Regions from separate parts of the Homo sapiens genome. Here region 2 is linked to region 1. The links are contacts of gene promoters, found by promoter capture Hi-C in blood cells and fetal thymus (Javierre and others, 2016). All regions are on one chromosome and are shown on one strand. The core of a region is centred on a gene start or on the middle of the fragment in contact, and the rest is flanking DNA. Distances in the headings are between cores, read along the strand shown. Region 1 holds the start of ZNF225 (zinc finger protein 225). Region 2 overlaps PVR (PVR cell adhesion molecule).

The links. Contacts are between HindIII fragments. The CHiCAGO score rates a contact against its expected background, and 5 or more counts as called.
Region 2: a contact is called between a fragment that was not itself captured here and the fragment with the promoter of ZNF225 in region 1, in 1 of 17 cell types (erythroblasts). The highest score is 5.5, in erythroblasts.

The regions. Positions count from the first base shown.
Region 1 is chr19:44,110,218-44,116,665 of GRCh38, forward strand. ZNF225 (zinc finger protein 225) reads left to right here and starts at 3,182. Exons shown (of 5, transcript NM_013362.4): 1 at 3,182-3,352; 2 at 5,543-5,625. The coding sequence starts at 5,611. It overlaps ZNF225-AS1 (ZNF225 and ZNF224 antisense RNA 1), which reads right to left and starts at 2,966. Exons shown (of 2, transcript NR_033341.1): 1 at 2,605-2,966. RefSeq lists a silencer at 2,893-3,243 and an enhancer at 2,936-3,635. The HindIII fragment of the contact is 4,811 bases long and covers 2,385-6,448 here.
Region 2 is chr19:44,660,037-44,666,482 of GRCh38, forward strand. PVR (PVR cell adhesion molecule) reads left to right here. Exons shown (of 8, transcript NM_006505.5): 7 at 1,256-1,287; 8 at 1,704-6,126. The coding sequence ends at 1,775. It also overlaps a transcript of CEACAM19 not described here. Among named protein-coding and RNA genes, the nearest start is that of CEACAM19, 8.2 kb to the right of the region's middle. The HindIII fragment of the contact is 3,377 bases long and covers 1-3,286 here.

The DNA of each region.
Region 1 (6,448 bases), core at 1,932-4,431:
AAATAGGGCTTATCACCCCCCTACAAGCAAAGAAAATGTCACAATGCTTAGTGTGCCATTTTTGATATTGGATGCAACTTATTGTTTCGATTGTGCTACTCTGACTTTTATGAGTGACCCAAAAACTTTGACTTGTCCCAGACAAGAGAAGTTTGTGTAATATGTCCCAGCTTCCACGTAAGCTTCTCTGCCACTAAAACCCTGTGACCCCGGGGGTCCAAAAGTGTTTGAAATGTCCGTGGCAGATAGTATGTTTGAAGCCTATGGTTGGCCCTAATTGGAGAATCAAAATTCAGATGCTTAGTATTTTGAAGCAAATTTCTGCCATCCTCTGCATATACTTACTCTCCTCTGGAGAAGAAGCTTTTCATTTTGCTAGGGTGTTTTGTTTTGTTTTGTTTTTGTTTTTGTTTTTTGAGACGAGTCTTGCTCTGTGGCCCAAGCTAGAGTGCAGTGGTGCAATCTTGGCTCACTGCAACCTCTGCCTCCCGGTTTCAAGCGATTCTCCTGCCTCAGCCTCCCGAGTAGCTAGGATTGCAGGTGCCCCGCCACCGCACCCGGCTGATTTTTGTATTTTTAGTAGAGACGGGGTTTCACCATCTTGGCCAGGCTGGCCTCAAACTCCTGACCTCGTGATCCACCCGCCTTGGCCTCCCAAAGTGCTGGGATTACAGGTGTGAGCCACCACGCCCGGCCACTAGGGGTCTTAAAACGGACAGAACACTTGACCACAGACCACCAAATTAACATGTGACTTATGCTTTCCATCATGAATCGGGTGTTGACCCCTGCACCTTTTTAAGTTACATGTGCAGATTAGTATTCCATTTGGAAGTGGTATATATGAGATTGTGTTTGTGCAGGCTCTGAAGCCACAGGTAAGTGCACCTAATATTCATCTCCCTACTCTTGCTGTATTCAGAATGAGTGAATATAAAGAGAAGTCATCTGAAATTATTGTGTCTCAGCAGCAGAAAGAAGTGGAATACACGGTTGGACGCGGTGGCTCACGCCTGTGATCCCAGCATTTTGGGAGGCCGAGGCGGGTGAATCACCTGAGGTCGGGAGTTTGAGACCAGCCTGACCAGCATGGAGAAACCCCCTCTCTACTAAAAATACAAAATTAGCCGGGCGTGGTGGCACATGCTTGTAATCCCAGCTACGCTGGAGGCTGAGGCAGGAGAATCGCTTGAACGCGGGAGGCGAAACTCCCTCTCAAAACAAAAAACAAACAAAAAACAACCAAAACTGAAAGCTGGTAATGAAACAAATACGTATACACGAACATTTGTAGCAACACTGTTCACTACAGCCAAAAGGTGAAAAGAAGCCAAATGTGCGTCAATGTATGAATGGAGAAACAAATTGTAGTATAAACATAAAATATTCATCTATGAAAAGGAATGAAGTACTGATACGTGGTATGATGTGAATAACATTAAAAATATTATGCTAAGCAAAGGGAGTTAGAAACAAAATGTTCCATTCATTTTTATGATTTGTCCAAAATAGGTAATAGAAAAGAGAGAAAGATTCATGTTTCCCCAGGAATGGGATTATGGACAACAGTAGTGATTGCTTAGTGGGCATGGGGTTTTCTTTGGGTGATAAAAATGTTTTGTAATTCAAGAGGTGGTGGTTTCACAATGAAGCAGCTACTTTGTCTGAGGTTTAAACCCGGGGTTCGTCGTTAAGCGCCAGAAAAATTTAGGACACGGACACACAAAAACTCCTCAGTTTAGGAGCGGAGGTTTAATAGGAAGAAGAGAAAGAGAAACGGGTTCCTCCATAGAGGAAGGGGTCTCCGAGCGGAAAAGGGTCGGCTGGCAGTGAATGTGCTGAGTTTTACAGACCAGTTTGAGGAGGCAGTGTCTGATTTACATAGGGGTCATAGATTGGTTCGATCAGTTATGACGTTTACATAGTGCGTGGGGAAGGCTGGTCGCCCCACCCTAATCTTCTTATGCAAATAGGCTTCCCAGTTGATTGGCCCATCTTGCCAGCTTCTTACTGTGCACGTGGCTGACAAAGAGAAGGGAAGATGGAGCCGCCATCTTTAACATGATTGGCACAACTGCTGGTATCTATGTCTGCGGCAGCTGGATTTTACAGGCTGCTCTTCCTTAGGAAGGGAAATAATTTGGGGCTGCTTTTCATTAAAAAGAAAAGCCTTACCGAGGGCTCCCATACCCTATCTGCCTAAGTGATGGCTTCTTAACTCGTATATATTAACAACACTGTATTCGTACTAGATGCCATTGCCATTGAATTATGTGCCTTAAAATAATTTTGTTTTGTGAATTACACCTCAAAAATATTTTTTAAATAATAAAACGACCACGTTAAAAACGTTTTGCATAGCGAAAAACAAGTCAAAGGAAAAAAGCTTTTTGGTTGAGCAATATTTGATACAATGTTAATATGAGTATGTAAATAATACTTAACGGAGGGGAAAAAACTAAACACTCAATAGAAATGTGGGCAAACTATTTGACCAATTCACAAAGACTATAATAGTGGCAACGGAAAATATGCACGGATGTTCCACTTTATTTACAAAAGAACAAATACAAATTAAAACTACATTTAGAAACCATTTCTTACCATTAGATTAGCAAAACTTAACTCCTCGAAGACTGTGTCTTCTCGCTTGTTCCCTTTCCAATAACACTCCTGTTATCATTGGAGGCGTTTAGACTTCAGAAATTCCTGTCTATTCAGTATTTTCTGTCCTGGACCAGGGAGAGAGAAGGACGACTCTCAGGATAACAGTTCACATTCCCCACTAGGCAGGCGCTCGTGGCTTTGGGATTCGTTCCCAGTGGGCACCTCGGAGTGGCAACGCTTCCCCCTGAAGAATGAGATTTTGAGCGTTTTTCCTTCAGCATTCGGAGGAGTGTAATCCAAATGCTCTGTGGAGTCGTACACACTGGCTCCAGAAGGAGGATACAAGCAATTCTGGGAATGGTAGTCCAGACGCTCAGTGGAGTAGCGGTCAGCTTGGCTCCGGCAGGCGAATCAGGGGATTTCTGGGAAATGTAGTCCAGACGCTCAGTGGAGTCTCGGTCAATTTGACTCCGGCAGGTGGATCCCAGGGAATTCTGGGAAGTGTAGTCCAGACGCTCGGGGTCGTCGCGGTCAGTTTGTCTCAGGAATTCTGGGAAGTGGAGTCCAGACACTCAGTGGAGTAGCGGGCCACTTCCGCTCCGTTACTGTGAGGTTGCTGCAGTTTTGTCCCTGGTAGTTTGGGTCAGTTCCGCGAGACCCTTCTGAATTTCCTGGACCTACGCATTGGATCCTTAACGAACTGGTGATCGAATTAGGGGAAAAGAAACCTCGTCGGAGAGCAGAGGTTTGGCGGAGCGGGGCCGCTGTTTTCGTTCTCGTCAGTGGAGCCTTCTTGGGCTTGGGGCTCTCCTCGCGTCCCCGGGGTGTTTGGGACTTGGTCGGGTCGCGTCTCGCCTGGTTTTAGGGTCTCCGGGGCTCTGAGCTCGCCCACTCGGCCTCCCTGCACCCCACGCGCGTGGCCACTTCCTCGCGATAAAACGCTGGGATGTTACTTAATCTCCTTGGGTCTCCCGTTACAGTTCTTTAAGATGGGGAGTTTAGGACCATCCTAATAGAATCGTTTTGGGAACTGAAAGCGGTAACACAAATGAGAGCCTTAAAGCAGCCCCTGTCACTTGGTGACTGGTGGTCTCTTGTTAATTTCCCACGAAGCCTGTCAGGTCCCCGGGTGGGGTGAAACTCCAGCTGCAGGGGCACCGGCCCTTCTCCCTGATTCCTGCAAGACGCTGGGTGATCCCGGACGCCTTCTGACCTCTCTTTTAGGAAGGCGAGGGTTGCATCCACTTCCAGGAGGGGAGAGGAGCATTTAACTTTTATGGGGCACGGCGACCACGGTCAGAGTGTTTCACAGCCTTCTCCTTACCCAGCCCGACCTTTCCAAAAGAGCTGCAGGGAGGGACTTCTTGGCTTCTGAGGGCAAAGCTCTACGTGAGTGATCCTTGGCTTTTTTCTTTGACAGAGATGCTCACCCCAACCGAGAGTGTATAGGATGTGTCTTCGGGCATGGGTGTTGCTTTCAGTTGTCATGTTTTTCTAGTCTTTAATCTTGAAAGATAGCATAGCTTTCATCGTTTTTTCTTGGTATTTTATCCTTGTTATTTTTGAAGAGTATAGATGAAGTTATTTTGGTCAAAGATGTTCATTTGGAGTTTTTCTGATGTATTTCACGTTTAACTTCAAAATATGCATTTTTTGCTGGAATACCACAGAAGTGGTAAATCTCTCTCTCTCTTTTTTTTTCTTGAGACGGAGTTTCGCTCTTGTCGCCCAGGCTGTAGTGCATGGCACGATCTCAGCTCATTGCAACATCCACCTCCTGGGTTCAAGCTATTCTCCTGCCTCAGCCTCCCAAGTAGCTGGGATTACAGGTGCCTGCCACCACATCCGGCTAATTTTTGTATTTTTAGTAGAGAAGGGATTTCACCATGTTGGCCAGGCTGGTCTCAGACTCCTGACCTCAGGTGATTCAACCGCCTTGGCCTCCCAAAGTGTGGGATTACAGGCATGAGCCACCGTGCCCAGCCTGAAGTGGTAAATTTCTTATTGCAACATAACAGGGGCCATATGTCAGTTTGTCACTTCATTGGTGATCTCAACTTTGTTCACTTGGCTAAAGTCATGTTTGTCAGATTTCCGCATTGTAAAATTATTTTGAATTTTTTTTTTTACCCCAGGAACACAGATTCAAGTTGCTCTCAATATACACTCCCTAATTTTTTAGTTAAATAAAATTTTGTAAGGAGAAATACATTTATTAGTGCACATTCTACTGTAAAGGTGAACTCTCCCTTCTCCTTCATTTGCTTATTCATTCATTCAACTATAAATATTCTATCAGTGTAGATCCAGAATCCAGTCTTATTAAGTTAAATGACATGTGGATGAACAATTACCAATGCTTTGTCCAACTTTATTGAGGTGTATTCTACATATCATAGAAACTACCCATTTCGTGTGTACACTTTAATGATTTTTAGGAACTTTGTGGAGTGGAATAAACATCACCATAATTCAGTTTAAATAATTTTCATCCCCCATTAAGCCTCCTTGTGCTCACTTATAGTTAATCCTCTTTGTCACCTCAAATATGCAGAGACCACCTATCTACTTTCTCGTTATATACACTTGCCTACTCTGGAATTTCATAGATATAGGATCATGCAATATGTGGGCCTTCCTATGTGACTGGCTTCTTTCACTTAGCATAATGTTTCCAAAGTTCATGCGTGTTGTAGCATGAATCAGTACTTCATTCCTTTTAATTTCCAAATAAGATTCCATTGTATGGATAGGCCACAATTTGTCTATCCATGTACGCATAGGAGGGAGTTTGTTGGTGTGCAGTTTTGGGTTACTATGAATGATGCTGTTGGGAACATTCATGTGTTAATTTACAATACACATTCGTGTTGGTGGATGGCATCCCTGGCCACACTTTCATGTCTCTTTTTCTGCCTTCCCTGGTACTTTCCAGGCAGGATTCTGCTTTCCCTTGGACTGTATCACTCAGGACTCTGAATATTCCCTGAAATAGGAGGAAAAATGACCACGTTGAAGGTGAGTAGAGCTTGCCTCTCTTGCTGTTAAAATTTCTTTTATGGAGACTTGTTCTGTCGCCAAGGCTGGAGTGCAGTGGCCTGATTTTGGCTCATTGCAACCTCCACCTCCGGAGTTCAAGTGATTCTCCTGCTTCAGCCTCCCAAGTAGCTGGGACTACAGGCACACACCACCACACCCAGAAAATTTTTGTATTTTTAGTAGAGACGGGGTTTCATCATCTTGGCCAGGCTGTTCTCAAACTCCTGACCTCAGGTGATCTGCCTGCCTTAGCCTCCCAAAGTGCTGGAATTGCAGATGTGAGCCACCGTGCCCGGCCGTATTTCTTCTCACTACTCATATTCTCACAGGTTCTTCTCAGTCTTGGGAAGACTTAGGGAGTACAACAGAGATATAGCATGGGACAAACAGAATCTAGCTCTTCCCGTGTGAACACCTCCAATAATCCTTGTGTGAAGCAGCAGTTAAGCAGTTATAGCCTGTTGTGTTGTGCCAACACGAGAGCCAGCGTCCACAGGTGGCACTGCTCCTCCCAGGCACCATTTTGGGGTGATCTTCTTTCTTCCTGACATGACACCTACTCAGATGCACCCAGTGCTCCAGGCACCCAAGGACAGTGATAACCATAGTCATGATAGAAAATCTTTACTTTCAGTATGGTAAAGGGTACCTCACACAATGTTACCAGAAAATATAACAGCCTAGAGCAAAAATATTCACTACTTGTATATTTGAAACAGATAAAATCCAAAATAAGAATCTTATGTACAGAATAGAAAAAGAAAATCCAAAGGAATGTGAATAAAAGACATTAACAGGCAAG
Region 2 (6,446 bases), core at 348-2,847, 550 kb after region 1:
GAGCCAAGCATCCACTAGGCTCTCCCACTCCAGCCTTGCCCATTCTGGGTCATCACCGTGGGGGACTTGTTTGTCATCCCCAGTGGACTGTGAGCCCCAAGATAGCAGACCTGAGGCTGTCACTGTCATGACTGTGTCCCCAGGACCGCCTACCACTGGGCCGGGCATAAAAGAGGCACTCGAGGAAGTGTTTGCTGAGTGATTCAATGTGTCAGCTCCAGAGCCAGACTGCCTGTATCTGGGCCCTAAAGCTACTGCTTGATTAGTGATGTCACCATAGGCAAATAGCTTAAGCTGTATGACTCAGTTTCCTCATCTGTAAAATGGGGTGATGGTACCTAATAATACAGTAGAGCACTTAACACAGTAGGTGGCACATGGTAAGCCACATACTGAGTATGTATTTGCTATGATTGTTATTGCTATTATTACTATTATTGTTATTATTAACATAAACTGCACAAGAGCAGGCTTTTTGTTTGTTTGTTTGTGTTTTGTTTTGAGACAAGATCTTGCTCTGTTGCCCAGACTGGAGTAGTGCAGTGATGTGATCTTGGCTCACTGCAGCCTCAACCTCCCAGGCTCAGGTGATTCTCCCACCTCAGCCTCTCGAGTAGCTGGGATTATAGGCGTGCACTCCCACGCCTGGCTAATTTTTTATATTTTTAGTAGAGATGGAGTTTCGTTGTGTTGCCCAAGCTGGTCTCAAACTCCTAGACTCCAGCAATCCGCCCACCTCAGCCTCCCAGAGTGCTGGAATTATAGGTGTGAGCCACCACGCCTGGCCAAGAGCAGGCATTTTTATCTGTTTTGTTCACAGCTGTGTCCCCAGCACCTAGAATGTACCTGGCACAAAGTAGACATTCACCATTTGCTGAATAATACTACTATTTGCTAAATAAACCCCTGTTGAATAGTCTAGGAAACTGAACACAGAGAGGTTAAGTCACTTGTCCAAGTTCACACAGCTCCTAAAGGACAGAGATGGAATTTGAACCCATCCATCTGGTTCCAGAGCCAGGCTCGATATTTATGGATATTTCATAACCAAGTGAATAACTGGATGGCTAAATCCTTAGAAAGCACACCCTCCATCCCTGTCTGACACACGTGTATACCATTAAGGGAAATGGCACCCCCATGTAATAGCAGAGGCAGAACTTGACATTTTCAGGGCCCTGACACCCAGGCATGTCTTCTTCCCATGCTTCCCAGCATTATTCCTTCCTGACGACTTCCCCTCCTATTTCCCCAGGTACAGAGCATGCCAGCGCCTCAGCTAATGGGGTAAGTGCAGTGTTGGAGCTAAGGAGGGTGTGGGGTCTGCACGAACTACAGACCAGACGTCTTCAGATGCCCACGGCCCGGCCTCAGGAGCCTGGGTCTTTTCTCCTGGTGCCTCGAGCAGCATTTCCCAACCCTTCCTGCTGGGCGGAATCCCCTGTAGAGTTTGCTAAGACGCAGCCCCAGACAGTCTGGTCTGTGATGGGGCCAGGGAATCTGCATTTTAATATCCGCTCTCTCCCCCCTGCCCCACGCCCCTTCAATTCCACCCATGGCCACACCTTGAGAAGCACTGCCCTGGCTTCCAGGGAGAGAGGAGGGGACGGGCCTGCAGTTCTTTGCACATGGGGCTTCAGTGGGAAGATGTTTGATTTTGTTCAAAAGAGCCCCAAGGCTAAAATTTGAAAACCCTCTTCTAGCATGTCTCCTATTCAGCTGTGAGCAGAGAGAACAGCTCTTCCCAGGATCCACAGACAGAGGGCACAAGGTGACAGCGTCGGGACTGAGAGGGGAGAGAGACTGGAGCTGGCAAGGACGTGGGCCTCCAGAGTTGGACCCGACCCCAATGGATGAAGACCCCCTCCAAAGAGACCAGCCTCCCTCCCTGTGCCAGACCTCAAAACGACGGGGGCAGGTGCAAGTTCATAGGTCTCCAAGACCACCCTCCTTTCATTTGCTAGAAGGACTCACTAGACTCAGGAAAGCTGTTAGGCTCACAGTTACAGTTTATTACAGTAAAAGGACAGAGATTAAGATCAGCAAAGGGAGGAGGTGCACAGCACACGTTCCACGACAGATGAGGCGACGGCTTCCATCTGCCCTCTCCCAGTGGAGCCATATAGGCAGCACCTGATTCTCACAGCAACATGTGACAACATGCAAGAAGTACTGCCAATACTGCCAACCAGAGCAGCTCACTCGAGATCTTTGTGTCCAGAGTTTTTTGTTTGTCTTGAGACAGGGTCTGGCTCTGTTGGCAGACTAGAGTACAGTGGTGAGATCACAGTTCATTGCAGCCTTGACTTCTCAACGCCAAGTCATCCTCCCACCTCAGCCTCCTGAGTAGCTATGACTACAGGTATGTGCCACCACGTCTGGCTAATCTTTTTATTATTTGTAAAGTCGAGGTTTCCCTGTGTTGCCCAGGCTGGTCTTGAACTCTTGGCTCCAAGTGATACTTCTGCCTTGGCCTCCCAAAGTGCTGAATTAAGCAGCTCACCATCCACACGGCTGACCTCATACATCAAGCCAATACCGTGTGGCCCAAGACCCCCACCATAAATCACATCATTAGCATGAACCACCCAGAGTGGCCCAAGACTCCAAGATCAGCTACCAGGCAGGATATTCCAAGGGCTTAGAGATGAATGCCCAGGAGCTGAGGATAAAGGGCCCGATCTTTCTTTGGGCAAGGTTAAGCCTTTACTGCATAGCAGACCACACAGAAGGGTGTGGGCCACCAGAGAATTTTGGTAAAAATTTGGCCTCTGGCCTTGAGCTTCTAAATCTCTGTATCCGTCAGATCTCTGTGGTTACAAGAAACAGCCACTGACCCTGGTCACCAGAGGCTGCAATTCAGGCCGCAAGCAGCTGCCTGGGGGGTGTCCAAGGAGCAGAGAAAACTACTAGATGTGAACTTGAAGAAGGTTGTCAGCTGCAGCCACTTTCTGCCAGCATCTGCAGCCACTTTCTGCCAGCATCTGCAGCCAGCAAGCTGGGACTGGCAGGAAATAACCCACAAAAGAAGCAAATGCAATTTCCAACACAAGGGGGAAGGGATGCAGGGGGAGGCAGCGCTGCAGTTGCTCAGGACACGCTCCTATAGGACCAAGATGGATGCGACCCAAGACCCAGGAGGCCCAGCTGCTCAGTGCAACTGACAAGTTAAAAAGGTCTATGATCTTGAGGGCAGACAGCAGAATTCCTCTTATAAAGAAAACTGTTTGGGAAAATACGTTGAGGGAGAGAAGACCTTGGGCCAAGATGCTAAATGGGAATGCAAAGCTTGAGCTGCTCTGCAAGAGAAAATAAGCAGGACAGAGGATTTGCTCTGGACAGAGATGGAAGAGCCGGGAACAGAGAAGTGTGGGGAAGAGATAGGAACCAGCAGGATGGCAGGGGCAAAGGGCTCAAGGGTGAGGAGGCCAGTGGGACCCCACAGAGTTGGGGAGATAAAGGAACATTGGTTGCTTTGGTGGCACGTAAGCTCCTTGTCTGTCTCCAGCACCCAGAATCTCATTAAAGCTTATTTATTGTACCTCCAGCGGCTGTGTGCAATGGGGTCTTTTGTGGAAATCAAGGAGCAGACAGGTTTCATGTGTACTGTCACCACGTGGGATGGAACCAGAGGCATGGAAGCAAGACGCTAAATGAAGAGGGCCATAAGGGCTGGGATTCCCAGGCACCTTAGGAACAGCTTGTCTTTTTTTTTTTCCTCTCCAAAAAAAATGTTTAAGGGACGGTGTCTCCTGTCACCCAGGCTGGAGTGCAATGGCACGATCATAGCTCATTGCAGCCTCTAACTCCGGGGCTCAAGCAATCCTCCCACCTCAGCCTACCAAGTAGCTGTGACCACAGCTGCCCCTCACCATGCTAAGCTAATTTTTTTAATTAGATAGTACATAAACGTCCCAAAATTAGAAGATAAAAAGACATGAGGGATCCATTCTAATTTGTGTTTGGAGTGTAATGGTCCAGCTCCATTCTTCTGCACATGGATATCCAGTTTTACACAACACTGTGAATGTAATGAATGCCACTGAATCATACACTCAAAAATAGCTAAAATGGCAAATTGTCTGTTATCTCTTTTTAACCACCATTTTTGAAAATTAATTATACCAAAAAACCATTGAATAGTGCACTTTATTTATTTATTTATTTGTTTATTTATTTATTTATTTTAGAAATAAGAGTCTCACTTTGTTGCCCAGGCTGGAGTGCAGTGGCGTGATCATGGCTCATTGCAGCCTCGACCTGCTGGGCTCGGGCTATCCTTCCATCTCAGCCTCCCGAGTAGCTGGGACTATAGGTGGGCGCCACCCCACCTGGCTAAATCTCTTTTTAACTTTTGTAGAGATAGGCATCTCGCTATGTTGCCTAGGCTGGGCTGGAACTCCTGGGCTCAAGTGCTCCTCCTGCCTTGGCCTCCCAAAGCGCTAGGATTACAGATGTGAGCCACCGCGCCCACCCTGAACCTTACTTTTTTTGCTCAGTTTCTGGTAATTCAGAGAATGCCTCCTGAGTTGTTCTACACCCACCTCATATTCCATGGGAGGGCTGTACAGGGCTTTTTTAACGAGGCCTCTAAGGACAGGCATTTGTATCCTTTCCAGCCTTTCACTATTACAATGTTGTAGTGAATAACTTTACACACTGTCATTTATTTTACTTTTTTTTTTTTTTATTTTAGAGAAAGGAATCTTGCCATCTTGCCCAGGCTGGTCTCAAATTCCTGGGCCCAAACAATCCTCCCGCCTTGGCCTCCTAAAGTACTGGGATTTATAGGCATAAGCCACCGTGCCTGGCCAATGCACACTGTCATTTAGCTCATGTTAACACCTGAGTGTAGGACACACTCCTGGAGGTGGAATTGCTGGGCCAAAGAGTATGTTTCTTGTCATTGTGATAGATATTGACAAATGAACCCTCACAGAAGTTGTGCTGAGTTCTGTTCCCACCAGCGACGTAGGCGATGACCTTTTTCTGGAGGGAGGGGGCATCCTTGGAGTCCACAGAGCCAGGAATGGAGAGTGGGCCCAGAATTTTGGTATAGGTGTTGTATAAACTTATAGTAAGGTTAAGAAAACCGCAACTATCCTTATCAGAGACTTGGCGGGGGGCAGGGTATGATGGAGATCATAAGGAGGCTAAAACACTCCACACCCTCCCTCTGCATTGCTCCTGCACGGGAGTCGGGAATCTTTTCAGGTTGATACGATCTCACCTTGAGGAGCTGTGAGGTCCCAGAAGCCTCTGGGTTGCAGATTGCTTGGGGTGAAAATGTCTGTGCTACTGAAATCTAACTTTTTACAAAAAATTACGGGCTGGGCGCAGTGGCTCACGCCTGTAATCCCAGCACTTTGGGAGGCTGCAGCGGGTGGATCACTTGAGGTAAGGAGTTCAAGACCAGACCATAGTGAAACCGTGTCTCTACAAAAAAAATTAGCCAGGTGTGGTGGTGCATGCTTGTAATCCCAGCTACTCAGAAGGCTGAGGTGGGAGAATCCCTTGAACCCGGGAAGTGGAGGCTGGAGTAAACCATGATCGAGTTACTGCACTCCAGCCTGGGTGACAAGAGTGAGACTCTGTCTCCAAAAAAAAAAAAAAAAAAAAAAAAACTGGATTGCCTGGCTCTACTCCGGGCACAGCATGCAGGCCCAGTTCTGCTGCTCTGCTGTTTGTTCTGCTTTCCTCCACATATTGGCATCACCCTCTGGTGCCAAGATGGCTGCTGCATTCCAGGCATCACATCCAGACTCAGACCCAGAGAAGCTGCCCATCCCTACCTGGGTGAGCCTTTGTAGGAACGAGAAACCGCATCCAGCAGCAGAAACCTCACCCAGCAGCGTCTTTTCCGGTCTCATTCACCAGCGCCGCCCACCGCTCAACCAATCCCTGGCCAAAAGAATGGGACCGCCTGGAAGGCTGGACCAAACAGGACCTGCCCTCTGGGGCTGGGGAGAGGCCCAGATGAAGGCTGCAGGACAGGATGGACTCCTAGACCTCTGTTACCAGCAGTGACTACCTCTGTCTGGGTGGTTGGAACATGTTTGAATTTTATTCTAAGTACTGTCTACAAGTTCTGCAATAAACCTTGACTCTTCTTTTAATAATGCAAAAGGAATCGAAGTGATTGTTTGAAAGGGAGAGGAAGAAAGAGAGAGGGAGGGAGGGAAGAATGGAGGGAGGCAGGGAAGGAGACAGAGAGAGTAGAATCCAGCCACCGGAAAATCCAGAATAGCTGGCTTTGCTTAATCCATGCCTGGAAATAACTGCTGGGTTTGCAACAACTTCTCTCCCGGAGACAGACCAAGGAAACTACAAAACTGCAGGAAGGATTGAAGGGCCGGGCACAGTGGCTCACGCCTGTAATCCCAACACTTTGGGAGGCCGAGGTGGATTGGATCACCTGAGATCAGGAGTTCGAGACCAGCCTGGCC